3 separate regions of the Homo sapiens genome follow, and all the other regions are linked to region 1. Evidence: promoter capture Hi-C in 16 types of primary human blood cells and fetal thymus (Javierre and others, 2016). All regions are on one chromosome and are shown on one strand. Each heading gives the region's core, a stretch centred on a gene start or on the middle of the fragment in contact. The rest is flanking DNA. Distances are from core to core; before and after follow the strand shown. Region 1 holds the start of GHITM (growth hormone inducible transmembrane protein). Region 2 overlaps POLR3A (RNA polymerase III subunit A). Region 3 holds the start of RPP30 (ribonuclease P/MRP subunit p30).

Evidence for each region. The method cuts DNA at HindIII sites, captures the fragments that hold promoters and counts their contacts. A CHiCAGO score of 5 or more calls a contact.
Region 2: a fragment that was not itself captured here is called in contact with the fragment with the promoter of GHITM in region 1 in 1 of 17 cell types (total B cells); the score reaches 5.5 in total B cells.
Region 3: the fragment with the promoter of RPP30 here is called in contact with the fragment with the promoter of GHITM in region 1 in 1 of 17 cell types (non-activated CD4 T cells); the score reaches 5.6 in non-activated CD4 T cells.

What each region holds. Positions count from the first base shown.
Region 1 is chr10:84,137,225-84,141,848 of GRCh38, forward strand. GHITM (growth hormone inducible transmembrane protein) reads left to right here and starts at 2,285. Exons shown (of 9, transcript NM_014394.3): 1 at 2,285-2,369; 2 at 4,238-4,405. The coding sequence starts at 4,277. RefSeq lists enhancers at 1,653-2,222, 2,223-2,792 and a silencer at 2,366-2,565. The HindIII fragment of the contact is 9,095 bases long and covers 662-4,624 here.
Region 2 is chr10:78,022,072-78,024,818 of GRCh38, forward strand. It overlaps POLR3A (RNA polymerase III subunit A), which reads right to left. Exons shown (of 31, transcript NM_007055.4): 5 at 2,478-2,632; 6 at 74-313. Among named protein-coding and RNA genes, the nearest start is that of POLR3A, 6.1 kb to the right of the region's middle. RefSeq lists an enhancer at 2,722-2,747. The HindIII fragment of the contact is 7,786 bases long and covers 1-2,747 here.
Region 3 is chr10:90,869,226-90,874,051 of GRCh38, forward strand. RPP30 (ribonuclease P/MRP subunit p30) reads left to right here and starts at 2,749. Exons shown (of 11, transcript NM_006413.5): 1 at 2,749-2,843. The coding sequence starts at 2,762. RefSeq lists enhancers at 2,587-2,881, 2,600-2,869, 3,000-3,059. The HindIII fragment of the contact is 10,238 bases long and covers 1-3,160 here.

The DNA.
Region 1 (4,624 bases), core at 1,035-3,534:
ACACACAGCCTACTTATTTATTTTTAAAGACAGCATCACCCTATGTTGCCCAGGCCGGCCTTAAGCTCCTGGGCTACCTCCCCAGTAACTGGGACTACATGCATGTGCCACCATTCCCGGCTTGTCCTTTTCTCTATCCTACACTCTAAGAACTTAGAAGCAGAGAACTTAACAATTAAACACTTCAAACTAAGTTTTATGTATCTACTTCCCCTCACTTGTATCTCTCCCTGTATCCTATTGCTAAATTAATGATAAAATTATCCACCCAGTTCAGAAGGATTACTCAGGGAGCCTTCCTCATTCTTATCAGCTATATTTGACCGACCATTCAATCCTGCAAACTCCACTTCAGCAATATATCTCTGTCATAAACCCCTCTGTGTCTTTCTACTGGCTTAATTCCAGCCTTTATTGCCTTTTGGTTGAACAACTACAATAAATTCCTAATTGGTCTCCTGGTCCATGGAACCTCTCCCTTCCTACACTGCCACAAGAGCATATATTTCCCAATGATATGACCAGATTCCTCCCCTGCTTCAAAATATTTGACCCCTGTGGAAACAACAATACAAGCCCTTTACTTGAGAAAGGAAAATATGAAATCAGACATTTTTCTTCCAATATGGAGAGAATAAGCTTTAATAGGAATCTTGAAGAAAGCTTGAGTCATTGACTTCAAGATCTTTATTCTGGTACTGTGTTGTAAATCCTTTCTCTTTGCTGATAACAGAAGCTCTAGAAAAAAAGACTATCACTGAAGGAGCCAAACAGAAAACCTATTTGCTAGCTAATAAAATTGGGCATAGATCAAAATAAAAATTAAACTGATCATGCTTGATCTGTTCAGTTTCGTGAGATTTCTCTAGTGTTTTCCTGCCATTTTCAGCGTAAAGAGATAAGAATTGTGTTGCTGCCAGACTCTTTTATTATCCACATAGAAGGCAAGTCTTTATATTTGTCAAGGTTTACATGATTAGGAATCATAAATCACAATTAACTACTGCTTAGGAGATAAAGGTTCATGAATTTTGCATGTTGTTAATCACCTTATCACCCTTTCAGGGTTTTAATCTGCTCTTTCTTCATGGTATTAAGTTATCACATTATATTTTTTCTATGTTCTGTCTCTACCAGAAAGTAAAGCCACAGAGCAAGGACTTTATTTTGTTAAAATAGTGGTAGCACACACGGGTTTAATTCATTTGCTGTTTTTTTGTTTTTGTTTTTTTGGTTTCTTTTTTTTTTGAGACTGAGTCTCCCTCTATCGCCCAGGCTGGAGTGCAGTTGCGGGATCTGGGCTCACTGGAACCTCCGCCTCCTGGGTTCAAGTGATTCTCCTGCCTTAGCTTCCCAAGTAGCTTAGATTACAGGCACCAATCACGCCTGGCAAATTTTTGTATTTTTAGTAGAGACAGGGTTTCCCCACGTTGGCCAGGCTGGTCTCGAACTCCTAACCTCAAGTGATCCACCCGCCGCGGCCTCCCAAAGTACTGGGATTACAGGCTTGAGCCACCACGCCCGGCTGATTCATTTGTATATATTTCTAGAACAGAGCTTGGTACGAAGTTGAGCATTCAGTAAATATCTGTTGAAATAGAGGGAGAGTGAAAAAGAAAGTAACTCTCTCGCGTATTCCACAACTAGCTCTTCACCTATCAAATTACGCGCAATGGAAACATCTTAGTCCTCAGAGCAATCCTGGGTGCAAGGCAGAGGCGGCTGTTATCAGGCCTATTACACAGGTTTAGGGTGAAACTTGAAAATGTGGGCGGGAAAGTCACAAAGCAATGAAAAAACCATCTAGAAAAAATCTTTTCTGGATGTCACCATCTAACATTTGGCATGAGACCCCAGAAACCGGATGACTCGGCTCAGAAGCAGACACATTTGAAAAGATATTTATCTCACGATAAATTAAGGGACAAAAAGGCCTTCAAAAAGGAACGGAATAAACGGAATAATTTTTAACTCTAACATTACTTTCTTTCAATTTTTACATAATTCTTATAGCTGCGGCGAGTGAAACGACTAAAACAAAAGCAAAACAGAGCTCCACTGCCCAAAACAAAGATGGCCGAGACGACTCCCATGCCCACACGCAAAATGGACGCTGACTATGACGTTCCCTGCAACAATCCTCAACTGGCCCCGCCCCACCAATTTGGAACCCCGCCTCCTCAACCCGGAACCCCGCCTCCCCCAGTGTGGCCGCTTTTCCGACAGAGGCCTGCCCGTGATTGGCTGCTCGTACTATTTACGTCCTTTCGATGTTGCGTCATGCAGTGCGCCGGAGGAACTGTGCTCTTTGAGGCCGACGCTAGGGGCCCGGAAGGGAAACTGCGAGGCGAAGGTGACCGGGGACCGAGGTACTGCTCCGGCTGGCCGGCGGGCGCCCGGGATCCCCGGTGGTCCTGACAGCCGCCCTCACGGGACCGCTGGGTGCGGGGGGAAGGGCTGGAAGCAGCGGTGCTGCTGGCTGCGTCAGGGCCGGCCTGCGCGTTGGGGTCGCAGTCCTGTGGGTGACCTGGTGGAGAGGGCGGCGGCACAAGGCCCTGGTCAGGCGGGCAAGGGCTCAGTGTAGCTGTGCTTCTGTCCTCGGGCAACAAGGTGCTGAGTCATCCTTGCGGCGAGGCCGTACAGCCGCTGCGCTGGTAGCGGCACCTGGGGCAGGGGCAGAGGTGTTGTGGGTTGACAGGGAAGTTTGCTGCCGGGTTCTCATCTGAATCTAGCGGGCTGGGTGAACTTTCTCGGGGACCAGGCACCCAAACTCATCAATGCTCACGGAGGCATAAGCCCTTGGATTAGGGTCGGTAGTATTTTCCCCATTTTATAGCAACGACATCTGAGTCTTAGAGATCCACACTCCTCACAAGGTCACTTCTAACCTGTCAGAAGCGGGATTCCCACTCTGGGCTGTTACGCCACATGGAGGTCACTCTGAGCTGGACCTCTTCGGCCCCAACCAGTGGACTGAGTACTGAGGAAGATACAGGACAGCCATAGGTTGAGATGATGTAATGGCACGAAAGTTCCAAAAGCGCTGGGTGTTTTCCCAAAGGCCGGGTGCCGAATTTTAAGACCCTTAATAGTTCAGTTGCAGAGCTCGGAGGACGCTCGGGTATCTTAAAGCAATAGTTCTTAGCTTTTGGAGTGTTCGTTAAAACACACGTTCTTGGTCTTATTCCTAGGGGTAGAATCATTAGGAGCAAAGAAAGACCCAGGAGCCTACATTTTAAGATGCATCCGGGGCACTTTCAAGCAGGTAGTCTAAGGGTCAACGCTGTAGTCTGAACACGGAATCCTTATGTTACAGATGGGGAAATGGGCCCAGAAGTATATCACTTGCCTAGAATTCACTACAAATCATTGGCAGAGATGGGCTGGTAGCCCCAGTTGGTTTACACTCGTCATTTCATTCTGACCTATTGTAGTCACCTCACCTTAGCATTACAGAAACACTGTCTGCTGACTTCTGGTTGACCACCCATCTAGTATAATGTGCCCTGGAGCTAAGATAATCCAGTTTTTAGCATGCTTTTCTTTTGAAGACACCATCGAGGGAGTCTAATGTAAGGGAAACCTGGTTGGTAACTGAGTTTACTTGTTTACTTTGAAAGACTAAATGTCCTTTACGCATTATAGTAGGACATATAGAATAGGTTAACTTAGAATATTTTTATATCTCATGTTGAAGGAAAGTAATATTTGGTATGATTAGCTGAAATTCATATAGTTGGCTTCTTTTAATACCTTTTAGCTTTGTAATGCAGTATAACCTTGAAGAGCTATTCATGTCTTCTTTGGATGACACTATTCCTTTGCCCAAAAGTTATGTAGATTCTTTTAAATTTTCCCACTGGATGCTGGTATAAATCTTAAGCCAAAACTACATTTGTAAAAACCATCACAGACTCTGTAATCACGTCCAGTTATTAACAGCCGTTCTGTGTTACACATAATTTTTGCAGTCATCTATTTTGATTGGTCAAACTGGGACTTAAACCTAGTTTGTTCCTCCATCTTCAGCTGTGTTCTCTGGGATGGGTTTCTTGCATTACAGTGGATGGTTGGGCAAAGAATTCATCGCTGAAAATTAAAAAGGTCGCTTTATTTCCTGTTCTACTAAAAAATAGTTTGTTCCTTGACTCTGACTCTCATATGTCCTTCTCTTAATTGGTTAGTAGGTTGTTTTACTTATGTTTTTTTGGTTGGTTTTGCCTTTTTTTTAAACTAGCATTTCAGATCTGCTCGGTAGACCTGGTGCACCACCACCATGTTGGCTGCAAGGCTGGTGTGTCTCCGGACACTACCTTCTAGGGTTTTCCACCCAGCTTTCACCAAGGCCTCCCCTGTTGTGAAGAATTCCATCACGAAGAATCAATGGCTGTTAACACCTAGCAGGGTAAAGATAATCTGAATGTTTTTATATTGCTTCTTTTTCCATTTGTGCCCTTTCTTTTTGGCAGAGTATGGCTGCTCTGCCTTTAGTGTGTTATACGTCAGTTAGCCCTGATAATATCCCCAATCAGCTCTTTCTCCCCATTAGTTTGTATCATTCTGGTCCCTCCTTATCCCATATGAAATAGAAAATGAGTTTCTGTAACTCTGTCTTCGCTTACAG
Region 2 (2,747 bases), core at 14-2,513, 6.1 Mb before region 1:
TCTCACATTTTCTTGACCAGAAGTTTTTGGATAGATATACTATGAAACTTACAAGGAAATGGGAGGCACTGACCTTTTTAATAACATCGTTTAGGAAAATGATTTCTGTCAGTTTCATTGTCAGATCATCTTCATTGGTGCCAGACTTCAAATCACTCACAACGGAGGGTCTGATACACAAAGGAGGCACCAAAAGTCGTGTGAGAATCAAATCAGACGGCTTTCCGGCTTCTGGGTTCATCAGAAGTAGAGGAACATCTTCAGCTGGGATTCGTTTAAATAAATTCAGAACTACTAAGGGATTCAAGTTTTCCTATGGAAACGAAGAAAGGCAGAAATGGAGATACTATGTTAGTTTTCCATAGCTTGGGCAAGGTTTTCCTTCACTATGTTTTCTAACCTATCTGTCACTAAGGATAAGTGACAACAGAGATTTCTATGGATGATACGCTATGCTGCAAGAGCCTTAAAATTGTGTATGTCTTTTATTCCAATTTTTCAAGCCAAAAATTCCACTTCTCATTATTCCAAGGGGTGTAACTTCAGAAATGAACACAAAGATTTAGCTACAAGAATGTTCACAAAAGCTGTTTTTTGTTATTTTTTATCCGTGTGACAGAATAGGAAGGTAATAAAAGCTGTTCTTAACAGTGAAAAGTTGGAAAGAGCCTGACAGTTTATTGGCTAAATAAAATCACGGTATATCCCTATGTGGAAAAGCAGCAAGCCATTGGGGGGAAAAAAAGATACTAGACAAACACAGCAATTGACATAAAAAAGGTCCATAAAATATTGGTAGCTGGAGGCTGGGCGTAGTGGCTCATGCCTGTAATCTCAGCACTTTGGAAGGCCGAGGTAGGTAGATTACCTGAGGTCAGGAGTTCGAGACCAGCCTGACAAACATGGCGAAACCTCGTCTCTACTAAAAATACAAAAATTAGCTGGGCATGGTGGCACACGCCTGTAATCCCAGATACTTGGGAGGCTGAGGCAGGAGAATCACTTGAACCTGGGAGGCAGAGGTTGCCGTGAGCCGATATCATGCCATTGCACTCCAGCCTAAGCAGTAAGAGTGAAATTCCATCTAAAAAAAAAAAAAGTGTTACTGGCTGGGCATGGTGGCTCATGTCTATAATCCCAGCACTTAGAGGGGCTGAGGCGGGTGGGTCACCTGAGGTCAGGAGTTCAAGACCAGCCTGGTCAACATAGTAAAACCCTGTCTCTACAAAAGTACAAAAATTAGCCGGGCATGGTGGCGGGCACTTGTAGTCCCAGCAACTCGGGAGGCTGAGGCAAAAGAATCACTTGAACGTGGGAGGTGGAGGTTGCAGTGAGCCTAGATCGTGCAACCGCACTCCAGCCTGGGTGACTGAGCAACTCTGTCTCTAAAAAAAAAAAGTGTTACTGTTAAAAAAGAACTAAGGTAAGCCAGGATGCAGTGGCTGACACCTGTAATCCCAGTACTTTGGAGGCTGACGCAGGAGGATTGCTTGAACCCAGGAGTTCAAAGCCTGGGCAACATAGCAAGACCTTGTCTCTACAACAAATTAAAAAATTGTTGCTGGGGGTGGTGGTGTGTGCCTGTAGTCCCAGCTACTTGGGAGGCTGACATGCAAGGATCACTTGAGCCTAGGAGGTCGGGGCTGCAATGAGCCTCGATCATACCACTGCACTCCAGCCTGGGAGACAGAGAGAGACCCTGCCTCAAAAATTAAAATAAATAAATAAACAAATATATAAAATAATAATAAAAAAAAAGAACTGAGGTAAAAACACAAACAAGGGGCCAGGAATGGTGACCTATGCCTGTAATCCCAGCACTTTGGAAGGCTGAGGTGAGAGGATCTCTTGGGCTCAGGAGTTTGAGACCAGACTGGGCAACACAGCAAGACCCCATCTCAATTAAAAACAAAAGCAAAAACAAAAACAACTGGTGTTACAAGGCCAGTCCACATTAGCCTTAGTGCCAGATAAACACTGTTACGGTCAAATAAGAATTACTGGAGAGCTGGCCGGGTGTGGTGGCTCATACCTGTAATCTTAGCACTTTGGGAGGCTGAGGCGACTGGATCACCTGTGGTCAGGAGTTCAAGACTGGCCTGGCCAATATGGGGAAACCCTGTCTCTACTAAAAATATAAAAATTAGGTGGGCATGGTGGCACATGCCTGTAATCCCAGCTACTTGGGAGGCTGAAGCAGAAGAATCGTTTTAACCTGGGATGCACAGGTTGCAGTGAACCAAGATTTGCACCACTCACTCCAGCCAGGGTGAAAGAGCGAGACTCTGTCTTCCATCTCAAAAAAAAAAAAAAAAAAAGGAATTATCGGAGAGCTGTCGAACCTAACTGGACCTCTCATTTTGGAAGAAAGTGGGTGTCTAGGGGTGGGGCGGAGTTGGGGGAGAGAGTGTGCATGTGACGTGCGGAAGAGGCAGGCGGGAGGCAGGCGGAAGGCAGGCGTGCATTCTCAGGCTCACCTGTGCCCTTCCCAGCAGAGGCTCCACTTCTTTATTATGTTCAATGGCTGTTTCAAAAGACTGAAGGAAATTTGATACAATGGGATCCACCACTTTTTTGTTGGTCTTGTATTTCTCATGAATTATTTTCAGCAGTCCACACTTCTTTACGGTACCTATAAGGGTTAGTTTATTTACCAAGAAATAAAAAATTATGTTCTCAGATTGGCCAGAGATTGTAGTATGGTTAATGAAATTACTGAAACTACTATAGCAATGAAAGATGAGAGG
Region 3 (4,826 bases), core at 1,499-3,998, 6.7 Mb after region 1:
AAGAAGCCCACTTTAGTCTCATACTAGCATCAGATAATTAAACAGTCTCCTAGCCACAGCAATTAGGCAAGAAAAAGAAATAAAAGACATCCAAATTGGAAAGGAGGAACTCAAATCATTACTGTTTGCAGACAACATGATCTTATACATGGAAAACCCTAAAGGCTCCCCCAAAAAAACTCCACCATTTAAAACTAGCAAGTAAATTCAGTGAAGTTGCAGGATACAAAATTGACATACAAAAAAACAGTAGCATTCTGTATGCTAATAGGGAACTATCTAAAAAGATCAAGAAAACAATTCCATTTACAATAGCTACAAAAAAAGATACCTAGGAATAAACTTAACCAAGAAGGTGAAAGATCTGTACAATAAAAAAAATTAAGGAAATAAAGATGACACAAATAAGTGAAAAGATATCCCATGTTCATGAACTGAAATAATATTGTTGAAGTAGACATACTATCCAGAACGATCTACAGATTCCATGCAATCCCTATGAAAATACCAATGACATTCCTCACAGAAATATTTTTTAAAATCCTGAAGTTTGTGTGGAACCACGAAAGTCCTCAAACAGCAAGAGCAGTCCTGAGCAAAAAGAGCAAAGCTGGAGATATCACAAAGCCTGACTTAAAAATATGCTACAAAGCTATAGTACCCAAAACAGCATGGTACTGGCAGAAAAACAGACACATAGACCAATAATGTAACAGAATAGAGAGACCAAAAATAAATGCATGCACCTATAGCCAACTGATTGGTATTGAGGGAGGGATTGAGGGAGGAGGATGGGGAGAGGTTGGTCAACAGGTACAAAGTTAGATAGGAGGAATAAGTTCTGATGTTGTATTGCACACAAGGTGACTATGGTTAACAGTAAGGTATTGTTTATATATCACGAAACAGCTAGAAGAGTTTTTTTTAATGTTATCACCAAAAATGCATGAGGTGATGAATATGCTAATTACCTTGATTTGTTCATTATACAACATATACATGTATCAGAACATGAAATTGTACCCTATAAATATGTATAATTACAATGTGTCAACTAAAAATGAAAAAATAATTGAACTATCACCTTATTCACCTTCACCACACATTGGTCATATTTCTGACCAATCTAGATTGTTATGGTCATAGGTGATGATGCCTGTGTGACCCTGCAAAATTAACACTAGATATTCTCATGAAAAACAAAGCGTTTGCTTCATATGACCTTATTCTATTTGCAGAAGTAATATTCTCTTCTACTCCCACTTAGGAAATATCAAGTACTGGAAAAGGCAAAATATCTCTTCTTTACAAAAGTTAACCAAGAAGAGAATTGCATGCTACTGCATGGAACAGATCCTTCCTCCCTTCTGAGACCGACAAGAAAATCGCATAAAGGAGTACTAGTTAAGGTGTGGTCCATAGACGAGAGACTATCTGTGAACTGTTTGTGATCAGTAAATAAGAGAAATTGATGGGTGAAGCATGTGGGTGGGCTCCTGTAATCACAGCTAGGAGAGAGGATTGCTTGCGTTAGAGTCCATCCTGGTCAATAACGAGATACTCTCTCTAAAAACAAAACAAAACGAAACGAAAACTCAGCAGGCCACCAACTAGGATACTCCCTAGGTCAAATGACCGAGCCTCTAATTCTGTGATTGTTGTTGCTGTGCGCACGTTAATAAAACAAACAAACAAACAAAAAGTGAAGATGTTTAGAAAGTTTACAGTACTTTGGCATTGTCCTGATAATCCAAGCTCCTGATCAGCAGATTCTATTCAGCCAGGTATAGGGCAGTTCGAGTGTTGTCAAATTTGTGATTCCCATGAGGCCAGGCTGCTTACTGGTAATGCATAAAGGACCACATCCTGGTTCGCGAAGAGTTTGGGGGTAGAGGAAAAGGAGGGAGAAACTGATCCTTCATCACAGGTAGTTTGAGAGCACTGATGTAAACTATAGTCACACTTTTGTAGTATAATTGATTATTATCCTCAATAGATCATTTACACTAAGTCGGAAAAAAGTGGAAACATCAGATATGTGGGATATGCGTCACCTTGTACATTTCTCAGCTGGAAAAGTGTAAAACATCTCAATTTTGCACCTCCCTTTTCAAACATGTCTTTGGCTAAATCAATGTTGGCTCTAACCGCTCGTCCTAGAGCGAGTCCCGCCATCTTGTGGTTGAAGATGTTGACTGCCACAGAGAATAGCGGGCTTTGACATCAACAGTTCTGATTGGGTAAAAAGACCCTCGTCTTGGGGTAGTTCTCTTTTGAAGTCCTAGAGTCCGTCACACACAAACGCCTTCTTCCCGGTAAGTCCATTGTAAACAACGGAATGGACTTTAGGGAAAGGAAAGGAAAACGTGTTCTTTAAGACTCTTTAAATAGCGTTTTCACCCATTAGCAGAATTCTCTGATTCATGAGCAGCACTAAGTAGATACCGTGTGCGTGCATTTTGAATGAATTCATTTCTACACTATTTTATAGGAGTATTGAATAGTTGGGAATTGGAACCCCTCCAGGGGGAACCAAACATTGTCGTTCAGAAGAAGACAAAGAGAGATTGAAATGAAGCTGTTGATTTCAACACACAAATTCTGGTGGTAGATGAAAGCAAAGCAAGTAAGTTTCTCCGAATCCCTAGTCAACTGGAGGTAGAGACGGACTGCGCAGGTTAACTACAGCTCCCAGCATGCCTGAGGGGCGGGCTCAGCGGCTGCGCAGACTGGCGCGCGCGGACGGTCATGGGACTTCAGCATGGCGGTGTTTGCAGATTTGGACCTGCGAGCGGGTTCTGACCTGAAGGCTCTGCGCGGACTTGTGGAGACAGCCGCTCACCGTGAGTTGCCCCGGCTTCGCGCCTGGCCAACCTCATGCCACCCAGACCATCGGGCCACACTCCGGAGTAACTATTTCCTGATGGGTCTCGGTCAGGTCTCCCAGAGTCTCTGGGATGTCCCTGGAGGCTGATGCCCGCCGAGGTGTTGGTCTGATTCCTAGCGCGGGAAACTCGAAGGTTCTGGGGGTTGTTATCTGGTTCAGCTACTTTCCTGCAATGAGGGAACTGAGGCCTAACGAGGGCGAGGGATTTGCATAGGGGCCTACAGCTGATAGGTGACAGAAGCCGGAGCTGGACTCCAAGGGTACAATCTTCTAAGCTTCTAAGTTACTATCAGCCCTTCCTGATTCTCACGACAGTGTCTAAACAAATACTGGAATTTGGGGCACGGACAGGAAGCGCCGTGGAGGCTCGGAGAAGGAGGAGGACGTGGGAGTGTTGGAACAATACTATCTAGACAGAGAGAGGGTAGGTGGGGGCAGAGGACATACACAGCGGAGTGGAGGTGGAGGAGGAGGATAGCATGGCCCAAATCGAAGGGAAGCGAAAGCCTTGAGAGACGAGAACCTGTTTTAACTATTGGAGTTAGTCATGGGTTCTGTATTCCGTAGACTGTAAAGTGTTGGAATAGAGAGATTAAAAAGAATCAAGAGGTTCGTGTAGTAACATCTGCTCCTCAGAGACAGTTTTCAGCTCATTGTGAGTTCTGATTACTGATACTGTTCAGAGGTGGTGCTAGAAATGACAACCACTTCTTGGCAAAGTGAATCACACCACTTTTTTATTGTTCTCTTTATGAAGTATCCGTGGCGAAATGACTGTCCCTTTCCACTGCTGCCACTAAATGAACGTTATCTCTGTGGTACTTTGCTCATCAGCACGAAGACGAAAGTAGACATGATGATCTGGGCCATTTGGCGCTAATGTTCTTTGATCCTGTAAAATAAGTTTTCCTAGGTGTAGTTTGTCGCAATTATTACCTCCTCAATGAGGCTTTTCCTGACGCCATCCCATTTTTGAATAAATCATGAGCTTCCTAAGAGAATTGCCATGTCTTATCCTTTTATTTACTGTGCTTAACACGTTCACTCTGCAGGCACCAGTACATGGCAGTTACTCAGTTAATGCTTGTGGAATAAACTGAACACATTAAAAAAATTAATACAAAAAAGAAAAGTTAATAATGATTTCTTTAGAGAATTTCCCCCAGTTTAAAATACACTTGGAAGAGGTGTGGTAATATATGTACATTGTTAGTGGTTATTTGTTTGTAAATTAAATGGAATTCATGGCATATAAAGTTGCCTCAACTTACAAGTCAAAGACAAAGGACTGCTCTGCTATTTGATGAGTCTGGAACTAAATAGTGGACATTTGCAAAGAATAGGAAAGACAGAGCCCTGGTTCTCAGTTTCTGATGTGATACAAGAAACCAATAATAAGCTTCAGAAATATACTGTGTAAATTAAAATACCCTAAAGCCTGATTGGGGAAGTAAGTACTCCTAAGCTGCCAGATGAGGAGTAGTCTAGGAAAAAGTTTTGTGGAGAAACAGATCCTAGTTGACATTTCTGTAGAACGGTAGGGACATTGTTTAGTAGCCAAAAGGATATCCTAAATGGGTATAACAAGGAAGTTTAGAGCAGATTTGGGAGTGTGGTAAAGAAGAATAGGGAGGAGGTGTGGCTGGTTGATTTGACTAACTGGGTGCAAGGTGAAGCCCAAGGTACAGGCATACTTGTGATTTTTTTTTTGTTTTTAAGGGTAACTTTCTTCAGGGAGCCTTTTGTGACCCCTACACCAGGTTTCACTGTGCTATGTACTTCCATAGAATCCTTACTTATAAAAAACATGTATTTATATACAATGACTTGCTTAATTGCCTTATTTGCCTTCGTTCTCCAACAGACTAGGCTGTAAATTTCTTGTGGAGAAGGATTATATTATTTATCCTGTATGCTCAACACCAGTTTAGGGCTTGTC